4 separate regions of the Homo sapiens genome follow, and regions 1, 2 and 4 are each linked to region 3. The links are contacts of gene promoters, found by promoter capture Hi-C in blood cells and fetal thymus (Javierre and others, 2016). All regions are on one chromosome and are shown on one strand. The core of a region is centred on a gene start or on the middle of the fragment in contact, and the rest is flanking DNA. Distances in the headings are between cores, read along the strand shown.

The links. The method cuts DNA at HindIII sites, captures the fragments that hold promoters and counts their contacts. A CHiCAGO score of 5 or more calls a contact.
Region 1: a contact is called between a fragment that was not itself captured here and the fragment with the promoter of MAP3K5 in region 3, in 1 of 17 cell types (megakaryocytes). The highest score is 8.1, in megakaryocytes.
Region 2: a fragment that was not itself captured here is called in contact with the fragment with the promoter of MAP3K5 in region 3 in 9 of 17 cell types (megakaryocytes, total CD8 T cells, naive CD4 T cells and 6 more); the score reaches 9.5 in megakaryocytes.
Region 4: a contact is called between a fragment that was not itself captured here and the fragment with the promoter of MAP3K5 in region 3, in 3 of 17 cell types (neutrophils, erythroblasts and naive CD8 T cells). The highest score is 10.0, in neutrophils.

Annotation. Positions count from the first base shown.
Region 1 is chr6:136,563,964-136,566,663 of GRCh38, forward strand. The region is part of intron 26 of MAP3K5 (mitogen-activated protein kinase kinase kinase 5); the gene reads right to left. Among named protein-coding and RNA genes, the nearest start is that of MAP7-AS1, 13 kb to the left of the region's middle. The HindIII fragment of the contact is 495 bases long and covers 1,136-1,630 here.
Region 2 is chr6:136,660,418-136,663,117 of GRCh38, forward strand. All of the region lies in intron 8 of MAP3K5 (mitogen-activated protein kinase kinase kinase 5), which reads right to left. Among named protein-coding and RNA genes, the nearest start is that of MAP3K5-AS1, 33 kb to the left of the region's middle. The HindIII fragment of the contact is 4,633 bases long and covers 1-2,700 here.
Region 3 is chr6:136,791,202-136,793,901 of GRCh38, forward strand. MAP3K5 (mitogen-activated protein kinase kinase kinase 5) reads right to left here and starts at 1,276. Exons shown (of 30, transcript NM_005923.4): 1 at 509-1,276. The coding sequence starts at 956. RefSeq lists enhancers at 26-541, 647-716, 1,507-1,736, 1,847-1,906, 2,277-2,356 and a silencer at 847-1,486. The HindIII fragment of the contact is 11,326 bases long and covers 1-2,700 here.
Region 4 is chr6:136,620,250-136,622,949 of GRCh38, forward strand. It overlaps MAP3K5 (mitogen-activated protein kinase kinase kinase 5), which reads right to left. Exons shown (of 30, transcript NM_005923.4): 15 at 2,599-2,700. Among named protein-coding and RNA genes, the nearest start is that of MAP3K5-AS1, 7.5 kb to the right of the region's middle. The HindIII fragment of the contact is 4,602 bases long and covers 1-2,700 here.

The sequences.
Region 1 (2,700 bases), core at 133-2,632, 230 kb before region 3:
CTGGGCTTGTGTCCTGGTTCAACCCTGCACTTCCTGTGTTAACCTTAGATAAATTACCTAATGCCTCCAGGCTTCAGTTTTCAAATCATTTGTAAAAAAGAAAACTAAAGCTTCCAGAAAAGATTATTGTGAGCATTAAATGAGACAGCATAGGTACAGTGCCAAGTCAGTGTCTGGTCTTTAATAAGGGATGTTCTGTTCCTTGCTACCTCAGTCCCTGGAAAAGAGCCTTTCCAGGACTCAGTGGGAAGGAAACCTTCCCAGACCCCCAGGCTCGACCCCATTCCCACAGGACATAAAGATGAGATCCTCAGAGAGAAGGGATCACAGCAGAGTAGGTAGCAGAGGTGGGACAAAAGTAAAACACAATAAGAGGTAGACAGAGAAGGTGGGTGGAGGAAAATAAGTTAACAAAGACAGCTGCAGGGTAAGTGTGGTGCACAATGAGGTGGATGAAGCAGCATGAACTGAAAGCTAGAAGAGGGAGCACAGGGTCTTGGAGGGAGGCTTCTTATCTCTTTCAAAACAAATATTATCCAAAGAAATGGGCAGGAAGCTCTGTGTGAATGTTTAAGTTGGCAGTTTTTTGATCTGGTATGTATTTTTGTCCTACTTGCTAATTTATACGTATAAGACAGTGATGGTATCTTCTTACTGTTTTCTCAAGGAACACAGTGATGTTTTCTAGAGTTTAACCTATGTTTGTCTAGACTATGTAATTTCTTTTTATCTTTTGTTAAAGTGAATGAAATATGGCCTGAGAAGGACTCCGTACTTGCATATTTGAGTCCTCGTGGACAAACTATAACTTAACAGGTAGACAAGATTGAAAACCTAACTTAGGAGTATGCGTCTATAACAATAGCTGAGTCTTGGCTAATCCCAGGAGCCATACTTCAACCACTCATACACTGCTGAGTGTTCAAATAAGGTGAACGCCAACCCATAACAAATCCAGCTCTTTCTGCACACTTCTGATTTCTGTACGTCACTTTACTTTTATTTTCTATAAATTTGTTCTGGCCACGAGGCATCCCTGGAATCTCTCTGAATCTGCTGTGATTCTAGAGGCCACCTGATTCACAAACTATTTTTTTCTTTTTCAATTAAACTCCATTAAATTTAATTTGTCTGAAGCTTTCTTTTAACACCTTAAACACCAGAACTTCAACACTGGAAGCAGAGTATTGACAGCCCACCTCATTTGCTCCGAATCCAGCTCTTAGAAGTATTTATCTTAAGAACAATCCAGTACATCAATTTTATTTTTATTTTGTGTTTATTTAGCAGGGCAATATTTTGAAATCAAGGCAACTGTCTGCCTTTCTGTTCCAAAAAAGTATGGCAGGATCTGCCATGAGGTCAATTTTTAACCTTGGATGGGCAGGGGTGATGAGGTGGATTGGTGGGTAATTCCAGAACTGTAGGATGGGGAAATTAAATAAACAGGCAGCTCCTCTTGAGACAGGTTTTTGTTTTTGTTTTTGAGATAGGGTCTTGCTCTGTCACCCAGGCTGGAGTGCAATGGTGCAATCATGGCTCACTGTAGCCTCAACCTCTTGGGCTCAGGTGATCCTCCAAGCAGGATAAACCTGATTTCCCTTCATCAGTGATCATCCTAAATATTCTAAGCTTACAATTTTTAATATGAGAGCTACAACCTTTCCTGAAAACACACTAACATTTCCTCTAGATTCATTTTGCGGTAGGTATGCCTTTATATTTCAGGTAATATTCAACTGAAAATTAGAAGGACCAATATGGACAGGACTGGTCCCTTATTTCAATTACTTGGTTTTTGTACTAAAGCAGCTGTCCTTTCTTCAAATCATGCATGAAGCAAACATCGTCCCTCATCTCACTTTTCTGTGGGTGATGGAAAGCCGTGGGAGATATTACTGAAAAAGGAAAAACGAGGCTGATTATCTGTAGATTTCACAGACTCAAATGTAAATATGCAGAGGAAAAAGCGTAAATGTGTGGGTTGTTGTGACATACTAATGTAATAAAGAAATGTGGGTAAATACTAGTCTTTTCAACAGAGATGGGCAGATGTGAGAAGCAGGCCCTCAGCTAGAACCAAGAGACACTCAGAAGAGAAAGGGGAAGCTGTGAAGAAAGCGGCCGGAAGCCCTCAGGGACTGCAGATGGCCCAAGCATGGTAGACAGACAGTGGCGCCAGGGTGGCGAGCACAACGCTAACCAAATAGGCCAAGGAGAGAAGGAAAAGGACTTGTGTCTAGGCTGCATTAGGAGAGGCAGGTCCTATTGACACAGCCAGGTGTGTAGACAGGAGGTTTCAGGGCCAGAAAAGCAGATATACCAGCTCTTTGGTAAACAAAGTAGTTTTACTATCTGCGTAATTCTAACCAGAAGGCATGGGTGGGAGGAGGTCAACCAAAACAGTAATGAGTGAACTTTCCTCCTCCAGAGATCACAGCAGGAGTCCAAAAAACACCACCACTCAGGACTGGGCAACAGAGAGTAACCTAGAGATAAGTGACTAACATGGACACCTTCCATAACGATGGGGTGTTATCCTTGGACTCTTGCTTGAGAAGAGGAGGAATGAGGGAAACCAAGATTTCCATGAAGTCTCAGAAGAGAAAAGACCCAAGTTCTTTCCCACTAAATAGTAGAGATGGCAAGAGCTGGGTTTCAGAGGACAAAATTGGGATATGAAAGTCAGAGAGGCAATCT
Region 2 (2,700 bases), core at 108-2,607, 130 kb before region 3:
AAAACAGAAAAAAAAAGGAACTAGACTGACAGATAATACTGTCTTGTTATGTCACTGTCTTAAAAGTCCTGAAATCCGGTAATGTAGATACTCCAACTTTGTTCTTTTTCAACACTGTTTTGGCACTTCTATGTTCTTAATGTTTCATTATATATTTTCAATTCTACTATGTCTTGTATTATTTTTGCATTTTATAAGTATTTGTTTGCTTAAAAAAATATATCCTTGTAGCATTGTTTGGTGCCACTAACATCCATCACATTAAATTGTTGGGAAAATTATCTGAGATTTAGAAATAAGGCAAAAAGGTAGGATATATCATTTCAATATCATATGGGAAGATAAGGCCACTCAAGGACTATCTCAGGAAAGTGACGCTAGTTCATCTCATTATGTACTACTTATTAAAGGTCCCAGACTTACAGAAGTTTACTTGTTAACTTGCAGATTTTTGTCCAGTAGAGATGCAAATTTCTGTAGAGTGGAATGGATAAATCCCTAAGATTTATGGCCTGTGGACACAAAACAGCTTTTTTTTTTTTCCTTAATCAAACTCAGATATCTTATCTTAACATTTCTTTGTTGTCTATGAATAGAAATGTTTTTTGAACTGGACATTCCATCTTACTAGTTTCCATATTAGTTGAGTTAAATAAAATATTTTCTATGTGTCTATTTTATATTTGCTGAGGGTCATGATTTTATATGTGTCCATTTTATATTTGATGAGAGTCATGATTTTAGCTTTTTGAAAATTATCTGTGAAAGAAACAAAATAACATTTAAAATTTTTCATGTTACTTTTTATCGTATAATTCCACTCAAACCACAAGTATTTCAGGAAAATGTCCATTTGGGAATTCTTCACATTTTGTGAGGGTAAAGAGAGAACAGCTTTGCCACTGCTGTTTCACGAGATGAAAAAAAAATATTACACACGCATAGGACAACATCCACGGTCTTCTATCTGGATATAATTTTGTTGTTGTTGTTTTTGAGACAAGGTCTCACTCTGTCGCCCAGGCTGGAGTGCAGTGGCACGATCACTGCTCAATGCAGCCTTGAATTTCTGGGCTCAAGTGATCCTTCCACCTCAGCCTCCCAGGTAGCTGGGAGTACAGGCATGAGCCACCACACCTAGCTAAATTTTGTTTTTTTTTCCTGGAAAAACAAGGTTTCGCCATGTTGCCCAGCCGAACTCCTGGGCTCAAGTGATCCTCCTGCCTTAGACCTGCTAGCTGAGATAACAGATGCTACCACAACTGGCTAATTAAATTTCTTTGTAGTTTCTACTTTTTATTTTTTTGTAGAGACGGTCTCATTCTGTGGGCCAGGCTCATCTCGAACTCCTGGGCTCAAGCAGTCCTCTCGCCTTGGCCTCCCAAAGTTCTGGGATTACAGGCATGAACCACCATACCTGACCCAATAATAGTTTTAAAATAAAATTTCAGATGCACTCTTGAACCTCAGAAGTTCATTTTGTGGTGGTGATATTTGGTTTTGGCCTTGCCATACATTTATCACATGATTGTGACACCCAGCCAGCATTTGGATAAAATGTATATTTTTGATGTCAATTAGTATTTTAGCATATGGATGTATCATAATTTATTTACCCAAATGCAGATGGGTGGCCATTTTTATTACTCTAAACATTCTTGTACACACAGCTTTGTGTATTTGCTCAATTATTTCTTTATAATACAGTTCTAAACGTGGATTTGTTAGGGACAGAAGACATGCCCATTTTTAGTGTTGATGCATTTTTGCCAAATTGCCCTTAGAAAATGCTGTACCAATTTATACTTTCACTGGAGGCATCTGACAATAAGGTCTTACCCACACCCTTCCCAGTGAGGGGGACTATCACGTGCATTCATCTTTACCAATATGACAGAGGAAAAAAAGGAACATTGTCTTTTTTAACCGCTGAGATTGGCTCTCTTTTCATGTTTGTATTTCTTTTGTGAATGAGCATTTATGCTCTTTGCACAAACTTGTTTCTACATGAAGACATTAATCTTTTAAGTATGGAGTTAAGAACATGGCTCTAATTTTTTATATTTAGAAGTCCGTTCTCTCTGTCTCTTCCTTTCTCTCTCTCCCTCTCTCTCTTCCTTTCTCTCCCTCTCTCTCTTCCTTTCTCTCTCTCTCTTCCTCTCTCTTTCTCTCTCACACCCACACAGAATATAGAAATAAACATCTTAGTGCATCAAATTTGTTTTGTATTTAGGATTTTTTCCATAGGATAGAATTTCAGGAGTACTGTTATACTTGGTTCCAGACTAAAATATTTTTAGGCTCTTCATCCATACAGAAAAATTAATAAAGCACAATTCGTGATGTTCAGTTGTACCTTTTTAACCAAGTCCTTCCAGATCAATATTTTTCTCTATTTAAAAATATTTTGGTTGAATTTTTAAGCAATGAGCAGTATGTCATTGCTGTGTTAACAACCACTTCACCATTTATTTGATTCAGTTGCATATTTATGCAATTTAAATGCTGACAATGCTGTCATTAAAATTGGTTGACTTACACTGAGGATTTTTTAATCATTTACTTTTTGTCATAGTCTTATCACCTTGCAGCTGTTATTATGTTCAAGGCTGTTTTAGTGGAAAATGGCAGACTTTACTGAATACTCAGATGCCTAGCACTGTGTGTACTGAAAATGTTAACTCTCTCAATCCATACACC
Region 3 (2,700 bases), core at 26-2,525:
TAAGGTGAGTTGGGAAGATCATCACATGGCATGCAAATTAATATAGTTACACTCTGCGTGCATGGTATGTCATCGTTCCCGTACTCTCAAAACTACACAGAGAAAAGGAGAACCTCATCTAAAACGGTCACAGGTATATGCAGAAAGAAAACAGGGACCAAACCTCACAGAAGCGAAACCGAGACACTGAAAGGAGAAAGACTGACTGGGGCAAATATCTCACACTGCTGGAGAACAGTTCAAGTCGATCGCATGGACCCAGGGCTCCAGCGCTGGGCGGTGGGTGGATCCATAGGTCTATCGCACAAGTACACACAGACTCTTGCACAAGCACACACGCTCTCTCCGGAGCGGCGAGCGACAGGAGCAGTCACGCAGCGGCGCTCGCTGCCCCCAAAGTGGGGCAAGAAGTAAATGCTTCCCGCCCAGAAAAATGAAATGCCCCGAAGACCGCCAGATTAAACGCGGGTCCCGACCGCGCGGGATGGGAAAGGGGTCACACACGCACCTGCATTGTAAAAGCGGTCCAGCACGGTGGTTTCTCCAAAGTCGAGTTTCCCAAAATGCAGGGTTTCCAGGGTGGCGCCCACTGTCTCGCACGCCTCCCGCAAGCTCTGCAGGGCCTCGCTCTCGGCCACCACCAGTTGCCCTTGGCTCGCTTCGTTGATCACATATGCCACCGTGGTCCGTCGGCTGCCCCCGCCAACAGAGCTGCCCCGGCCTCGGGTGGCACTGCTCGAGGAGGTGGCCGCCGGACAACCGATGCCAGGGGCAGCGGCGCTCTCCACGTTCCAGAAGCTGCCCGGCGGCGGCGGTGGCAGCTGGTGCTCCTCGCCCTCGCCCACCGCCGCCGCTCCTCCCCTCCTGCAGATGCCGCCCTCGGGGATGGTGCAGAAGCCCGAGGGGGCGAAGGGTGGCACAGAGAAAGTGATGCCCTCGTCCGCCTCCGTGCTCATCTCTCCGGGCCGGGCAGCAACGGCGGCGGCGTCCCCCGCCCAGCCGCACCGCCTGGCCAGCCACAGCTCGGGGCTGCTCCGCGCCCGCCGGGCTAAGCAGCTGCCATCGCGCGCCGCGCCCTCGCCGCCGCGCCGCCGCCTCCTCTCCGGCGCCCTCTCCCCCGAGGGCACGCCGCTGCCCGGCGGCGGCTCGCTCCTCCTCGGCGCCTCCGTGGCCGCGCCGCTCGCCCTCTGCAGAGTTTAGAGTACAAGGGGTGGGGAAGCCGGGTGAGCGGGAAGGGACGGAGCTTCCTTTTCTTGGCCGGCTGACAAGTCGGCTCGCAAACCTGCGCCGCGGTGCAGCTCAAGGGCGCCGCGCTCGGGGTGCAGCCCGCCCTCGCCACCCGCCGCGCCGCGCCGCGCCGCGCCGCGCAGCTCCTTCCGTCCCGGCCGCTCTGGGAGGGGCCAGGAAGGGCGCCCCCTGGGTGCGGAGCTACCTGGCGCGCACCTTACGAGCGGGCTGGCTCCCCAGGCGGCGTCCCGGAACAGCAGCAGCGGCAGCCGAAAGGACCCTCCTCCCTCTTAGGCGGCAGCTCGCCTTCATCGGGTGGATTTCCTCCTCCTTGCCTGGCCTCGTTTCTCTTTCGATCGCCTCCGCCGCGTGGTCCCGGCGCCAGCCTCGTCGTTCCTTGCAGACGCTCTCCCTCTCCACCACCAGCTTCTGGCCACCCACTCGTAGCGGCACCGAGGGTCAGGGCCAGCCCCCAAGGAGGGCGCTGCTAGGAAGCTCGAGCCCGGACTGAACTGACCGCGCTGCGGCCCTGGGACCCCAGCCCTCCTCTGAGTGCTGCGCGTGGCATAGGGTCCCAGTCTTCACCCACCCGGCCCCCACCTACGAAGACCTGGAGCGCAAGCGATTACGGGGTGGCGCAGAAAGTCCCTCGAGGCAATACTCGGTCTTCGGAGTCCGCCCCTGAAGCATTTCCAGTGTTCCCCGCGACTAGGGCGCCCCCCTCCGGGCCTTGGCGGCCTGGTGGACTGGGACCGTGCGCGGCGCTGGCAGGATAGGCTCCGGGAGACCCACGTTGCGCGAGGCAGGAGGTTGTACATAGCGCCCTGGAGCCAGGGCCTGCACTGGAGGTTGCTTCATTAGTGACTGTGGCACTCCAGAAGTGGCTGGCTAAATTGATCAGGTTCTCCCATGTACTTTTCCTTTTAAAATTTCCAGTGGCTCATTCCGTTATCAGTAATGAGTAATTGATTAGTGCCAACTGCCGAAGGACTTAGTATTCTCATTTAGGATCTTAATTCCCCCACAAGCGCCAGATACTTAAGATAGAAGATGGAGTCTCTACCCGACTCCACAAATTATCAACAAGATGAAACAGGGGAATAACGTGACCTATTCTATTTTTTAAACTGCATCACGCGAGGCCGGGAGGGAAATACCCAGATTGTTTAAGAGCAATCAAAAAAAGTACCTGCTTATTTGGGGAGCAAAGAACAGATGTGTAAGTTCCCAGAGAACCCCAGAATGCTGTAATTGTTAGGAAAGCCAGTGCAAGTTACAACTGAGTAAAGAAACAGGTTTTGTACTTCCCATCTCCAGGAACTGAGACTAGTGAGTCCTGTGAAAAAGGCAGAAGAAAATGTAAATTACTTTTTTTTTTTTTTGAGACGGAGTTTCGCTCTTCTTGCCCGGGCTGGAGTGCAATGGCGCGATTTCGACTCCCTGCGACCTCTGCCTCCCGGGTTCAAGCGATTC
Region 4 (2,700 bases), core at 6-2,505, 170 kb before region 3:
ACAGAGTGAGTCTCTGACTTAAAGAAATAAGGAAATAAAAATAAAATCTGGGTTTGCTATTGGGTTACATACTCACTACCTAGGTATATTTGATGGATTCCTTTGTACTCCAAACCTAAGCAACACACAATATTCTTTTGTAACAAACCTGCGCATGTACCCCCTGGTTCTAAAATAAAAGTTAAAAAAGGAAAAAAATCCAGGTTCAGTTTTGGTCCTGTTAACCTTGAGATGCCTTTGAGATCTATAACTGGAGATGTGGGGTAGACAGGTAACCTGGGGAGCTCAGGGGTGGGTCCTTCCTAAGGAAGGCTGGTCATGTGGCCTATGACCACGGCCACAGAACGTGGAGTCAAGGGCAGCCAGAGTCAGCCCATGATGTAGCCCAGCATTAAAGCCTGGCCAAATATGGATAATAATAACCATCTATTAAATAATCCAATCTTCTCTCTTTCAGACTTTGAATACACAACACACACAACTGTGTATCATACACTACAACTGCGTTGCACTAATTACAGGAGCACTGCCTTACAGAGAGATGTAAGGGAAGCCCTAAGGCAGCAGAAATCATGAGGTTGAGAGAAGACAGAATTATTAGTTGGAGAAATAAACCATAAGGCAGAGCACAAGAGCAGTGAGCAACAGATAATCCTATCACCAGAGCGCTTCAGTTTCCTGAACATTTTTGTTCCTAAAAAAGATTCCACCTTTCACAAGGCCTCACTATGTGAGATTCAACTCATTTCTTCAAGCATAGGTTGGTGCAAAAGTAATTGCGGTTTTTGCCATTAATTACTTTTGATGGCAAAAATGTATATATTATACATTTTGTAGTTGTCACACAGTTCTTGGATATTGTCCCAGTTTTTTTTTTCAGTCTTTTTTCTCTTTGCTTTTTTAATTTTGAAAGTTTCTACTGATATATTCCGAAACTCAGAGATTCTTTAACTGTGCCCAGTCTACTAATAAGCCATCAAAGCCATTCTTCACTTCTATTACTGTTTTTGATCTCCAGCATTTTTAAAAATTATTCCTAGGATTTCCATCTCTGAGCTTACATTACCATCTGCTCCTGCACAATCTCTACCTTTCCATGAGAGCCCTAAGCATGTGAATACGATTCACAATCTGATAACTCTAATATCCCCGCCATATCTGGTTCAGGTTCTGACACTTGCTATGTTGCTTAAACTGTGTTTTTTGTCTTTCAGTATGCCTTATAGTTTTCTATAGAAAGGTGGACATGATATCCTAGGTGAAAGTGCTGCAGTAAATAGGCCTTTAGTGATGTGGTGGGAAGCAGTCAGGGAGGGGAAGAGTTCGACAGGTCTGTGATTAGGTCTCAGTCTTTTAGTGAGCCAGTGCCCCTGGGCTGTGAATTTTACAAGTGCTCCTTAGCTTTAGCCCCCTTAGGTGAGACAGGACAGCTAGAGTTGGGCTAAATTTGGTACTCCACTTCCCCTAGTTTGGTTAGGCTCCGGTAAAATAGAGTCTCTTGTGGACAGACCTTGTTAAGAACAGAATGCTTCAGCGTATTTAAAAATGGTGACTTTGCCGGGCATGGTGGCTCACGCCTGTAATCCCAGCACTTTGGGAGGCCGAGGCGGGCGGATCACGAGGTCAGGAGATCAAGACCGTCCTGGTTAACACGGTGAAACCGCGTCTCTATTAAAAATACAAAAAATTAGCCAGGCGTGGTGGCAGGCACCTGTAGTCCCAGCTACTCAGGAGGCCGAGGCAGGAGACTGGCATGGACCCAGGAGGTGGAGCTTGCAGTGAGCCGAGATCGTGCCACTGAACTCCAGCCTGGGTGACAGAGCAAGACTCCGTCTCAAAAAAAAAAAAAAAAGAAATAGTGACTTTTCCTTTCTTGCTGCCAGAAGCACAATGGGATTTCTCTTATTTCAAGTCTCTCTGAGGACCTGGTAAAGCTCCAAAACTCATGAAAGTGTGACCCTCATCCCCAGCCCTCAGTGACTGGGTCCCACTGGAGTTTTTAACTCAGACTTCACAGTGGGCCTCTAGAGATTTGTCAGTTACAGTTCAGTTTTCCTACCCCAGCACTGGTTCCCACAGAGGTGAGCAGATCATGGATTTCTGCTCAGTAAGTTATGAGTCTCTCAGTTTTCCAGTCTCTCCAATTTCAGGGGCAGCTGCCTCCCTTGCAACTTCACGGACGAATCCAAGAAGAGCCACTGATTTCAGTCTCTTCAGCTTTCTACTTGTTAAGATGGAATGACAACTTCCAAGCTCCTCACATGCCCGACTGGAACCTAGAACTGGTTCCAACCTAAACGATTTCTGATAGTGCTTATTCCTCATCTATTCACATAATACATCCACCTTTATCCAAGACAACCTGAGCCTAACACACACAGGGCCATTCTCTTTTCTAGTCTTTGAAAGCCCCGTTCTTCCCCACCAGTCTGGCACTTCAAACACTGAATGATGCAGCAGCGAAACCTCAGAAGGAGCTAATTCACAGAGTGAAGTTTTCACAGTTTCATTCATTAGAATATCATCAAGTATTTTCTAAAATACTGTCAACAACCCAAAGTACTACAGAACAGCTTTTAGTAGCTACAATTACTGTACCTGCTGTCTCTCTCTGGGATTTCCTTAATAGCAATTCTGACTTGGTTGCTCAAGTCCCGACCTGCGTAGACTATCCCATAAGTGCCTTTTCCTAAAACGACT